2 separate regions of the Homo sapiens genome follow, and region 1 is linked to region 2. The links are contacts of gene promoters, found by promoter capture Hi-C in human tissues and cell types (Jung and others, 2019). All regions are on one chromosome and are shown on one strand. The core of a region is centred on a gene start or on the middle of the fragment in contact, and the rest is flanking DNA. Distances in the headings are between cores, read along the strand shown. Region 1 overlaps RPF2 (ribosome production factor 2 homolog). Region 2 holds the start of TRAF3IP2 (TRAF3 interacting protein 2).

Region 1 (5,934 bases), core at 3,435-5,934, 620 kb before region 2:
CTCCTAGAGTGTTTTTATTACAGGCTGTGGGCCACCTCCCAGCCCTAGCTCATTTTAAAAATTGGCCTGTTTACTTGCTGTGTGATCTTGGGCACATTACCTGTCTGTTCAATTGCCTCATCTGTAAAGTGAAGATAAGAATTGTAACTCGCGCGTGGAGGCTCACGCCTGTAATCCCAGCACTTTGGGAGGCTGAGGCGGGGGGGTGGGTCACGAGGTCAGGAGATCGAGACCATCCTGGCTAACACGGTGAAACCTCGTCTGTACTAAAAATACAAAAAATTAGCCGGGCGTCGTGGCGGGCGCCTGTAGTCCCAGCTACTCGGGAGGCTGAGGCAGGAGAATGGCGTGAACCTGGGAGACGGAGCTTGCAGTGAGCCGAGATCGCACCACTGCACTCCAGCCTGGGCGACAGAGCGAGACTCTGTCTCAAAAAAATAAATAAATAAATAAATAAGAATTGTAACTCTCAGGATTGTGGTGAAGATTAAGCCTTAATAGAGTGACTCCATGTAAACATCAGCCTTATTATTCCCCATTGTTGGCAATAATACTGGCATTCTCAGCAATGATGTTGGAGTGCAACAGTGTATACTTCCTGGCAGGCATTGTGGTCTTAAACCTAAAAGAAAAATAAGCAGTCGTTAGTCTTATGTTTAGTAAATGTCCACAGGTTGATCAGCAGTTGATGCTCAATTCTTTGTATTAGGGTACAGGATACAGTTTGACTACTTAAAGTTTGAAGAAAAAAGAAGAGTAAGAAAGAGTAAGAGAAAAAAAACAGCAACAGTATTTACTTGAGCCTTTTATTTTTTACTTAAAAAAAAGATTGGAAAGAGCAGTAATAAAAGAATGGTGGGAATACAAAAATGAAAGCTTTTTTTTAAAAGCTATCAAAACACTTATTTAACAATAATAAGGAAATATCTTTTACTAATATCTACCAAAAAAGTGAGATTTTGGCCGGCCCTTGTGGCTCGCACCTGTAATCCCAGCACTTTGGGAGCCGAGGTGAGCGGATCACCTGAGGTCAGTAGTTCGAGAATAGCCTGACCAACATGGCGAAACCCTGTCTCTGCTAAAAATACAAAAATTACCCAGGCGTGGTGGTGTGTGCCTGTAATTCTAGCTACTCGGGAGGCTGAGGCAGGAGAATTGCTTGAACTCAGGAGGTGGATGTTGCAGTGAGCCAAGATTGTGCCATCACTCTCCAGCCTGGGTGACAGAGTGAGACTCCATCTCAAAAACAAACAAAAAAAAACAAACAAAAAAAAGAAAGTGAGATTTTTTTTAAGGGTGGAACCCTAAGTGACAAATATGTTTTTAAGAATTTTCATATTAGTTAAGTCATGGCTTTGCAATGTGAGGAAAATGTTTAAATAGTTATGAATTGTGCTTTTCTGAACAGAAAGCCCAAAACGAAAAGAGCCAAGAGATTCCTTGAGAAGAGAGAACCGAAACTCAATGAAAATATTAAAAATGCCATGCTGATTAAAGGGGGAAATGCAAATGCAACAGTGACAAAAGTACTTAAAGATGTGGTAAGTATATATACTTAATCTTTAAAAGGTATTGAAGTCATTTTAGAATTTTCAGCATGCTAGGATGGGCTGTCGGAGAAATACGTAGATAAGCTTGCCTTACCATAAGAACTACTAGTCTTAGAGAAGAGCTAAAGTTGGGGGTTTATTTACCTTGCGTGGCACCTTTTCTTAAAGCAACTAGTTCTCTTAGTAAATTTTATTATTGTTTTTTAGGAGCACAGGTGGGTCTGGTAGAGTGAAGGTCTCCCTTAGTAAATTTAAACTGTTTTCAATTACTAGAATTTGGCTTACTTACATTTTAGGAAAAAATCTAATTTGTAAAGAGAAGTAACTGCATATTGCTGTATATTTAGTCATTCAACAACACCGGTTACTGTGCCTCTGCTGGGAATTAATAGGTGAGACACAGTTCTTTCAGTGAGCTTAGAGAGATAGACATGTAAAAAGTTCTTACACTGTGCTGTGCTGGAGGCATGGACAGGGTAGGGTGGGAAACAGTTAAAATCACATAGGGGAGGCCAGGCACGGTGGTTCACGCCTGTAATCCCAGCACTTTGGGAGGCCGAGGCAGGAGGATCACGAAGTCAGAAGTTCGAGACCAGCCTGGCCAACATGGTGAAACCCCGTCTCTACTAAAAGTACAAAAATTAGCCGGGTGTGGTGGCGGGCGCCTGTAGTCCCAGTTGCTCGGGAGGCTGAGGCAGGAGAATCGCCTGAACCTGGGAGGTGGAGGTCACAGTCAGTCGAGATTGTGCCACTGCTCCAGCCTGAGTGACAGAGAGAGACTCCATTTCAAAAAAAAAAAAAAAAAATCACATAGGGGGACCCCCACACAGGGTAGGTTCCCCCAGAGATAACACTGCAGCTTCATTTTGAAGGAGAAGTTGGTGCAAGAAGTGGGAGAGAAAGAGAAGATCCTCTGAGGCTGAGAAAGAAGTTTGTGCAAAAGGGAGTATGAAGGAGCATTGATGCATTTGGAGAACTGTAAATAATTGGGCATGGCCAAAGGAGAGTGGGCTAGATGAGGCTAGAAGAGGAGGCATGGGTCACATAGTAACATGAAATTTGAATTCTAATCTGAAAGCTCCGTGTAATCATTGAAAGATATTAAGCAAGAGATACCATCAGTCCTTTTAATTGGCTTGATTAGAGAGGGTTGAGAGCAAATGTAGGAAACTAAGCCATTGCTGCCAGCTAGGTGAAGAGCATCTGGAGTCCAGTGGTGGCAATGAAAATGAGAAATGACCAGAAAGAATAGATGTTGAGGAAAGAAGAGTTGGGAACTAGTGAAAAGTATGACTTCCCAGGTGTTTGGCTTGAGTGCCTGATGGGCAATAATGCCAATTAGAAAATGTATCAAGCGGAGCAGGTTTGGAGGGAAAGGTGAAAGGTTCGGTTTGGGACATGTAATTTAAGTAATGAAAATAAAAGCTTTGTTTTTTCTACCTCTGTAGCCTAGTGTACAGCCCAGTGTCTGGACATAGTAGGTACTCAATATATATGTAATCTATGAAAGAAAGGCATAGTATGGGCCAGGCACAGTGGCTCACACCTGTAATCCCAGCACTTTGGGAGGCCGAGGTGGGCGGATCACGGGGTCAGGAGTTCGAGACCAGCCTGGCTAACACGGTGAAATCCTGTCTCTACTAAAAATGCAAAAATTAGCCAGCCATGGTGGTGGGCGCCTGTAATCCCAGCTACTAGGGAGGCTGAGGCCGGAAAATCTGCTTGGACCTGGGAGATGGAGGTTGGAGTGAGCTGAGACCACGCCATTGCACTTACTCCAGCCTGGGTAACAGAGCAAGACTCCAACTAAAAAAAAAAAAAAGACATAGTATGTGGAGATATCTAGTAGGTTATTTGACTAATTAGGCCTTGAGTACAGCCAATAGATCTTTGAATTAAATCAATTAAGTAATCGAATACATTTTTGTTGTTGTTATTGAGGTGGAGTCTCACGCTGTTGCCCAGGCTGAAGTGCAGTGGTGCCATCTTGGCTTACTGCAACCTCTGACTCCCGGGTTCAGGCGATTCTCCTGCCTCTAGCCTCCCAAGTAGCTGGGAGCCACCACACCCAGCTAATTTCTGTGTTCTTTTAGTAGAGACAGGGTTTCACCATGTTGGCCAGGCTGGTCACAAACTCCTGACCTGACATGATCTGTCCGCCTCGGCCTCCCAAAGTGCTGAGATTACAGGAGTGAGCCACCATGCCTGGCTTTGAATATATTTTAAACTTGACCAAACTCTATGCCTGATAAGCATAGTCAATTCAGATGTCTGAATGCCTTATATAGGCCCATCCCTTTTTTGAAATGTTTGTCTGAATTTCATTGTGCTAACGGGAAACTGCCCCTCTCCTTCTAGTATCCATCAGCACAATGACCCTGCATATTTAAGTAAGCTTTAAAAGCAGCACAATATTACAGATTACTACAATAATTAAAATTCATCATGATGACTCTGAGTCATCAAGAAGAGGTGGCAATGTTTATTACACGGAAACAGGGAAATAGTTGGCCAAGAATCATCAAAAGTTTTAGTACTTAAAAAGGTAGATTTTACTGTTGCATTTTCTTTGTTCACCAACTCTGATAGTTGATGAATGATTATTATACCTTATTTTTCATTGTTTCCCTCATTTACCCATTTCTCTAATGCAAGGTAGTACCTGATGACATCTTTGTTATTCTCTATGGTAGAGCAGTACTGGCCATACAAGTAATAAATGATTATAGGCCAGGTGTGGTGGCTCACACCTGTAATCCCAGCACTTTGGGAGGCTGAGGTGGGAGGATCACTTAAGCCTAGGATGACAGCCTGGACAACAAAGTGAGACCCCATCTCTATAAATTAAATTTAAAAAAATAATAAAATACAGCCTGGACAACATGGTGAAACCCCATCTCCACTCAAAATACAAAAATTAGCTGGGCGTGGTGCATGTGTCTGTACTTGGGAGGCTGAGATGGGAGGATCACCTGAGCCCTGGAGTTTCAGGCTGCAGTAAGCTTTAATCACGCCATTGCACTCCAGCCTGGGCAACAGAGTGAGACCCTGTCTCAAAAATAAATAAATAAAATAAAATGAATGATTATTTGTGGATAGGTAGAACTAGGAAAAAAATGAAGAACATTGAATAATAGGCATTTTTTAAAGAGCTGTGTTTAACCTCTGGCTAGTATTCTAATTGTCATCATTATTACTGTTTCTAAGTTTTCTGATCTCCACGCAACATTATTTCAATCTGTCAGCCTTTCGTGATAGAATTTATTTTTTCTGTTTTTGTCTACTACTTTTTTTTTTTTTTTTTCTGAGACAGGGTCTCACTCTATCACCAGAGCTGGAGTGCAGTGGTGCAATCACGGTTCACCACAGCCTCGAATTCCTGAGCTCGGGTGATCCTCCCGCCTTAGCCTCCCAAGTAGCTGGGACTGCAGGCATGCACCACTATGCCTGGCTAATTTTTGCAGTTTTTTGTAGAGACAGGGTTTTGCCATGTTGCCCAGGCTGGTCTCGAACTCCTGGGCTTGAGTGATCTGCCTTGTCCTCCCAAAGTGTTGGGATTACAGGCGTGAGCCACTGCACCTGGAATTGTTTCCCTAGAGAGAGACTGGACTAAGTCGAGTTTAAAGAAATGAAGGAAATTGTTTAAGTTGGATAGACTATTGACAGGGCATAGAAACTTTTAAATAGGAAAGTCTAGTCCAAGAATATTAAGCTTACATTTCAAGTTACTGTAAGTGATGAAAAGGGAGCCAGGCAGAAGCCCTCAGAATAAGATTGAGGCCCCAGAGCAATCTTGGAGAGTGACTGTTATGATGCTTTATTTTTATTTCTGCTTTTCAGAATGTGTTTTGTTTTGAAAGCTATAAATTTTGTTTTACAGTATGCACTGAAAAAACCATACGGTGTACTATATAAAAAGTAAGTCATGATTTCTTTTACTGTATTTTAAATGATTTTGTTTCATTATAAAAGTAACCACTTTATGGAAGATTTGGAAAACAAAAACTTTTTAAAAAGATATTAAAATTCCTTACAGTTATTAATATTTTAATTTCTTTCTTTTGGTCTGTTTTTTTCATTTGTATTGAATGTCCTTGCATAGTTGTAACCATAGCATATATATTTTATTTTGAAATACAGATTTACAGAAAAGTGCAAAAATAATGCAGAATTCCCATATACCCTTCACCTGGCTTCCCCTAATGTTACATCTTGCATAACCGTAATGCAATGATCAAAACTAATAAATTAACACCGATTCACTCATGTTAATCAAATGACAGACATATTTGATTAGCACCAGTTTTTCTTTTTTCCTTCTTTTGAGACGGAGTCCTGTTGTCGCCCGGCTGGAGTGCAGTGGCATGATCTCTGCTCACTACAA
Region 2 (6,549 bases), core at 3,920-6,419:
CAGGTCATGGTAACCATTGGCTCTAGGGTTGTAGTTTACTGTTGATATAGATTGTACACTGATAAGCCAAAATACAAACCTAATGAAACTGACATACTTAAGGAACTTTACTCTTTGTTAGCAATCATTGTTAATATTTATTGAATGGTGACTACGTGGGAAATGCTGTTCCAAGTGTGATAGATATATTAACTTACTTAATCCTCACACCCACTCTAATTTCCTAAGTACTATTGTCAGACTCATTTTACAGACAGGAAAAGCAAGGCATAGAGAAGGTAAGTAACTTTTCCGAGGTCACATGGCTATTAAGTAGCAGAGCTGTGATTCAAATATAAGCGGTTTGGCACCAGATCCTGTGCACTTAACCGCTTGCATCTCGGTTGGGAGCACTGACTGGTTCAGCTATTGGGAGGGAAGAAAGGGGATGGGGAAGCCACATAACCCCTAGGAGATTCTGTAATAAATATGCTTCAGAGCCATTCACCTTGAAGCTGAGGAGGCATGGAAGCAGGCCACCTGTGTTCTGTACAGCATCACCAGGCTGGAAATCTGCCATGGCTTTCCTTCACGCCATCACAAGAGGATACAGATGAGGCTGCAGAGGCATCTTGATTTGAGAAAAGCATTTGACTGGATCTCATTAAATTTTAATCATTAACTGAATTCAAAATAAATTGAAAACTGGTTGACAGAGCACCAACAAAGGGTGATGATAAATGGTGATGCATCTAGAGGGGAGCTATCTTCCAGGGGACAACTCTAAGGCAAGGACGGATGGGATTTAATGAAGGTGTTATGTCCCCAGAAGAAGACAAATAGCACAGCAAGGAACAGAGGAAGGACAGGAGTGAGCAGCCTGAGTAATTAATAAACCATATTAACAGCTCCTCCATAATCAGGCCTTGGTGATCACAACTGCTTGGATTTTTTCTTAAGCTTTCTTTGAGTCAGGAATAGGTTTGAAGCGTCCTAGAGACACACAGCATGAATATTTCAGGTGGACATTAAAAAGAAATCTATAAATTTACAGCTGGGAGGATCCTGAGATCTACTTCGGATCAGAAACTTTCAATTACAAGATTCCCAAGGCCTTACTTCATTCCCCAGAGAGTAATCTTTTTAATAAATGTCCAAAAGTCATGGATTTAAAAAAAAATCTTTAAACTCATTAATGTCCTTTGTTTCCTGCCCAAATGCATGCAAACTTTCATAACACTGGTTTGCTGAGTGGAAGGTTGGTTTTGAGTGAACTGTTTGGCTCAGATTCAAACTCCAATGAACAAATACTTCCAAGTTTACTTGCTGAATTTCCCATACAGAGAAGTTCTTCCACTGGGCTTGCCAGAGGATTTGAAACAGTGGTGAGCCCTGGAAGGAAGGGAATATTTACTGGCCCTTGGACATAAACCCAGCACAGTAAGACTCACATCAGGCTGAAGGCAGTGCAGTATGAACCGACCTGATTTGAGGAAGTTTGCTCTGGGACTCCTCTGAGCTACTAAATGAGGAGGAGAAGGACTAATGGGAACACACTGACTCCATCACATTAGAAGTTATAATAAACATTTAGAGAACAACCTCAAACCAGCCCATGTTTTTTTTTTTTTTCTGTCGTTGTCATTGTTTTGGTTTTTGTTTTTTTGTTTCTTCAGATAAGATGGTTTCTCTAAGCACATGTGTGATCCCTAATTCAGCCACAGCCACGGAGTGAAGGAGAGGAAGGGGTAGAAAGGAAAAACCAAGAGAGGAAGAGGAAGGGAGAGAAAGGAAGGAAGGAGAACGGAAGAGAAGTAAGGAAAGTGGGGAAACGCTGAAGGATTTTTTTGTATTTGCCTTTTATTGGTGTAGGAGAGACACTTATTTACTTGTAATTTGTATGTAGTGCTGGGTATGAGAAGGGGCAGTTGGAAGAGAAGGGAAAGAATGAATATAGGTGAAAGGTAAGAGTGTCATAGGGTAAGCTGGGAGGCCAGGAAGAGTTTGGACAGACAGCTCAGAGTAGGAAGAGAGTTCAGAGCGGGGAGGGAGACCTGTTGACTCTGGGAAGGGGAAAGGGAAAAAACACTGGCATCCTGACTGCAGGGAAACAATGAGGCAGCGGAGAGCAAGTATCCCTCATTGCTGAGGGAGCTGCCAAGACCCCAGGCAGCCTCAGTCTGTGGGGTGCGGCCTGTGGGGTGCGAGGAGAGGGGCACAGGCTGGGAGCTCCGGTCAGTCCTGGCCCTCCTAAAGGGCTTGAGTTCAGCTGCCTTATCAGGGAACCAAGCCAAACCAGCACAGACCTAAGGATCACCCCATGGATGGAAGCCCACCCTTCTTCAGCCAGTCTACAACTCCTGGTATCCGGGAAGGTCTGTGCACACACAAGGTGTGCACACACACACACACACACACACACACAAGGCGTGCACACACAGCTACAGAGTGAGCTGAGTAGTCACAGCCAAGCACATGTGTGCTTCTAGGAGGCCTGCTGGGCACGGGAGGCAAAGACCATAAGTGGGAGAAAGGACAGCCTGAGTTTCATGAACTAAAAATATCTTGGTGACAACGCATTGGGAAGAAACAGGAGAGGCCCGGGGGGCAGCTTCTTGATTCCAGTCCTCAGACACTTTCTCATGGAAAAATCCTTCAGACTGCAGGATTGTTTTGATAAGGAAATGTGATCAAACATTAGGGGTCATTTCATTGGATCTGAAAGGAATTTAAAGTTGAATATGCCTCATCTGTGTTCACTCTTTTTTTTCTGCAGCAGTTGCCTGCAATTCATATATGTTTTTAGAAGCTAATTTAAAATTGCCTGCAGAAGAAAAATGATTTGAATTCAGGATATTCCTGAGATTTCCATTCTACAACGTGTAAAACAAAGATTTCATTTAGACAAACTACCCCACCATAATCTTTCTGAATGCCTGTTGAAGAATGCCTGCAGATATGACTGTCTTCTCCTCTTCTTTTTCTTTTCAGAGCATTTGAAAGTCACTAACTCCTTAATCCCAGGAGAAGCAGGCTTTAACATTTCCTGTCTCTACACCTTCCAAAAATGAGTAACCCTGAGTTAAGAACCTTTCTATCCGACATGTTGGTACATTACTCAGACCTCACTTCTGTTTAACCCACCCCATGCAAGGAACAGAGCAGAGTAACTACATTATCCATCTTTTGATGCTCCATCATGGAGTGACTGGTAGCTGCAGCAGCAGATTAAGAATGACTGTGGTGTGTGGCCTTTAAGGATTAGAGCGAGGCTGGCAAGTGCACAACAGTTAGCCTGCTTTCAGATAATGGTGCATCGTTGTTTGAAAATAAAATCAGGAACTCATTGCAGGTGAAATATCTTGAAATTCCTGTCCTTTCATCCCAGGGGAATAGAGAGAAATGCCTAAAAACATGACACGGACTACACCAGGACATCCCACAGAAACCAAAAGTCCTGCACCAGCCCATCCCAGTCAGCTAGGGCCTGTTTGAACTGTATTGATGGCAAGTAATTGCCAAAAAGAAACAATGACAATTTTTTTTTAAGTCACGGTCTGGAAAAAGTTAAGGATTCTGTGTATCCGCCATCTAATAATGTCTCTAATCACAGTCATCACCCTTACATGGTATTAGGATGTGTTTCATAGTTTCCCTTCCCCTCCCATTAAAGGCCCCACACACAGTGACTGGTCCAGCTGAGGAGTGGTTTCCAGGTCCAGCTACAGCAGTAACTCTGGCTTCTGGAGCTGGGCTTGTCTGCCAGTTCTCTGGCCTGCCTTGACTCTGTGGACAATAGCACAGACTATCCTTCCTGGGTAACCCAAATGGGACATGAACTAATTCGAGAAACTCCCTGTTTTCTCCTATTTGGCTAGAGCCAGTAATAAGGCCTCAATTCCAGGCAGCCCTCCCGCAGAGACACGTGTCTCCCAGCCTTTCGCCCTGACTGCTGCTTTACCTCTTGCCTTGAGAGCAGACGAGTGAAACAGAAATCAAAGCAGTTGACATGGAAGGGGGGTGAGCACCTACTAGGCATTTGGTAGCATGCTGGATTCTGGGAGGTAGAAAAATATCAGGAAACAAAGTCCTTTCCTCAAGGGGGTAACCAACTGGTAGTGGGAGGTAAAATTAAAATATGTGAATAATCGGTAAACAAAACAAGTCTTGAAGACCACCCATTACCACTACCCCTCTGGGACTATCCTGGCTTTGTTTTATAAGGGAATTTGACACACTCATGTTAGATCACCACCCCCCATCAATTTACTGATGAAGAAATCCAGGCTTAGTGGAGTCAGAGTGAATTGCCTAAGTCATGGAACCACAAGAAGTGAAGAACTTGAAACCAAGTTTCTTGTCCTTTTAAAAAATTTGGCCTCTTGTTCTCCTGTTCCTTTAAAAAAAAAAAAATCCCCCTATTCTAAGATACCATCTTGAACTTGAAAGTCACAAGAAGCTTGATTAGCTTCTAAGATCAAGTTCTGGCATTTCTCCCCCTTGTTCCCAAAGGCTCCGTCCAGCGCCAGGCTGGGAGGGCTGGAGGGCGGCTGCGGAGAGGGGCCGGGAGGCGGCTCACAGCCAGCACAGAGCTCAGCAGAACTTCCTGGCCCAAAAATGTGCTGTTGATTTTTTTCCCCCCTGCACGAAACAAGGATTGAGAAAACTGCCACTGACGTGTTCTGGGGCTGAAAGCCAATTACTTAATCTTTGCCATCCCTGGCTCTCTCTTTGGAGAAGTGGGGCTTGAATTCTTGAGAGAAACTTGTGGGGACACTAAGTACCCAAACGAATGGTTCCCAGGCAGCTCCGAGCTGTCCCCGTGTGCGAGCCTCCTCTCCTCAAAGGGTTAACCCGGCGGGGCTCGCTGGCCTGAAATACTATACTAGCAACACATCCTTGCAGCACAAACTTCACTGTCATTTTCTCAGCTAAGATGGTCTCTGTGCGAACAAGTTAAAGGAGGGGAGACGAACACAGAGGAAAGTAGAGGCAGAATGTTTCAGTAAAGGAGAAACAGCGTGCTTTGGGAAATAGGTCAGAGGTGAAGAAATAAGACCAGGCAAGTGGCAACTCCGAATAACTTACCTTAGATCCACCACGGACAGACAGACTGGGCCCGGAGGGTAGTCGGCTCTCGGCGGCTTCTCGTCTCCCTCCACCTTCTCCGGGCCCAGGTAAGTAGAAGAACAGGCTCTGAAGCAGGAAGTGGAAGCTGTATGCAAATTTCTACGGAGCCTAGGAAGCCTCTGCTCAAAATCTCCCTGTGGGCAGTGAATCAACGGCTGAGGAGTCACTTTATTTCTTAAAACAGAAACCTCCTTCATTCATGAGAAAGGGCCAGTGACCAATTAGGCGGCATTTTTGTTTTCGCCACCCAGCTAAGAAGCTGCCCAGGAGTGGGCAGAACCTCAGTGTAGTCGCAGTGCCCTCGCCTGGGAGGGTGTCTCCGGGAGGAGATTGAACTCGAATGTTAAGAATTAGTAATCATTAGCAGCTCCAAAGGAGGGGATTGTGGGCAGATAATGGGGAAGAAGAGGGAGTCGAGCTTCTTCCACCTCCTCTAACTGCTTAAAACATCAGCATTGCCGAGCGCGGTGACTCACGCCTGTAATCCCAGCACTTTAGGAGGCCGAGGCGGGAGGATCACGAGGTCAGGAGATCGAGACCATCCTGGCTAACAAGGTGAAACCCCGTCTCTACTAAAAAATACAAAAATTAGCCGGGCGTAGTGGCGGACGCCTGTAGTCCCAGCTACTCGGGAGGCTGAGGCAGGAGAATGGCGTGAACCCGGGAGGTGGAGCTTGCAGTGAGCCGAGATCGCCACTGCACTCCAGACTGGGCGACAGAGCGAAGACTCCGTCTCAAAAAAAAAATTTAAAAAAACCCAAAAAATCAGTATTTGCTGCCCATAACCACTGGGGGGGTGGGGGGGGGCTCACTGACCATGCTCCTGGACACACGTGTACACACAGCATACACATGCCTGTGGCTTGTGCACACACACCACCCTATTGTCAGGCACAAAAAAAGTGGTTAATTTTAAGAACACACACACACACATACATACACATGCACACATGCACACTAACCTCCTCTGGCTGCATTTTCCTGACCTCAAGATTTTTTTTCTCCCCTTTCCTTCCCATTGTTTAATCAGTAGCCTGCAGAATTTATTGCATGAAGGAGCGCTGCAGGCAGGATGATACCCAGCGATGTGAACAGAGAGAGAGAGAGACAACTGCCTTTCGGGGCAGCAGTCAGTAATGGGAGCAGTGTTAGCTGGAGCTTTGGAGTCAGGAGGACCTGGGTACGAACTCAGCCATGTCACTGGCCAGCTGGGCGCCCTGGGCAGACACACCATGCTCCTGGTGCTGGACTTGTCTGCCTGTTGAAGGGGTCCAAGTGTCAGTCCACTCAGCCGGCTATCTCTCTACTCTCATCAAGGGGACAGGCCCCAGAGCATCCCTGTTCAGATTGTACCAGGTTCTGCTCAAGCAGGATACAGGAAGCAGGTTGCTCAACATTCCACAAGCAGAGAAAATGCAGCTTGTTTTTAACACAGTATAC

The links. The method cuts DNA at HindIII sites, captures the fragments that hold promoters and counts their contacts. A contact is called where the count stands out against the background at its distance.
Region 1: a fragment that was not itself captured here is called in contact with the fragment with the promoter of TRAF3IP2 in region 2 in 1 of the 25 tissues and cell types used here (spleen).

Annotation. Positions count from the first base shown.
Region 1 is chr6:110,983,598-110,989,531 of GRCh38, forward strand. RPF2 (ribosome production factor 2 homolog) reads left to right here. Exons shown (of 10, transcript NM_032194.3): 2 at 1,409-1,541; 3 at 5,431-5,468. Among named protein-coding and RNA genes, the nearest start is that of RPF2, 4.5 kb to the left of the region's middle. The HindIII fragment of the contact is 4,760 bases long and covers 2,305-5,934 here.
Region 2 is chr6:111,600,709-111,607,257 of GRCh38, forward strand. It overlaps TRAF3IP2 (TRAF3 interacting protein 2), which reads right to left and starts at 5,170. Exons shown (of 9, transcript NM_147686.4): 1 at 5,068-5,170. It also overlaps TRAF3IP2-AS1. RefSeq lists enhancers at 4,879-4,948, 5,239-5,288, 6,134-6,549. The HindIII fragment of the contact is 20,769 bases long and covers 2,689-6,549 here.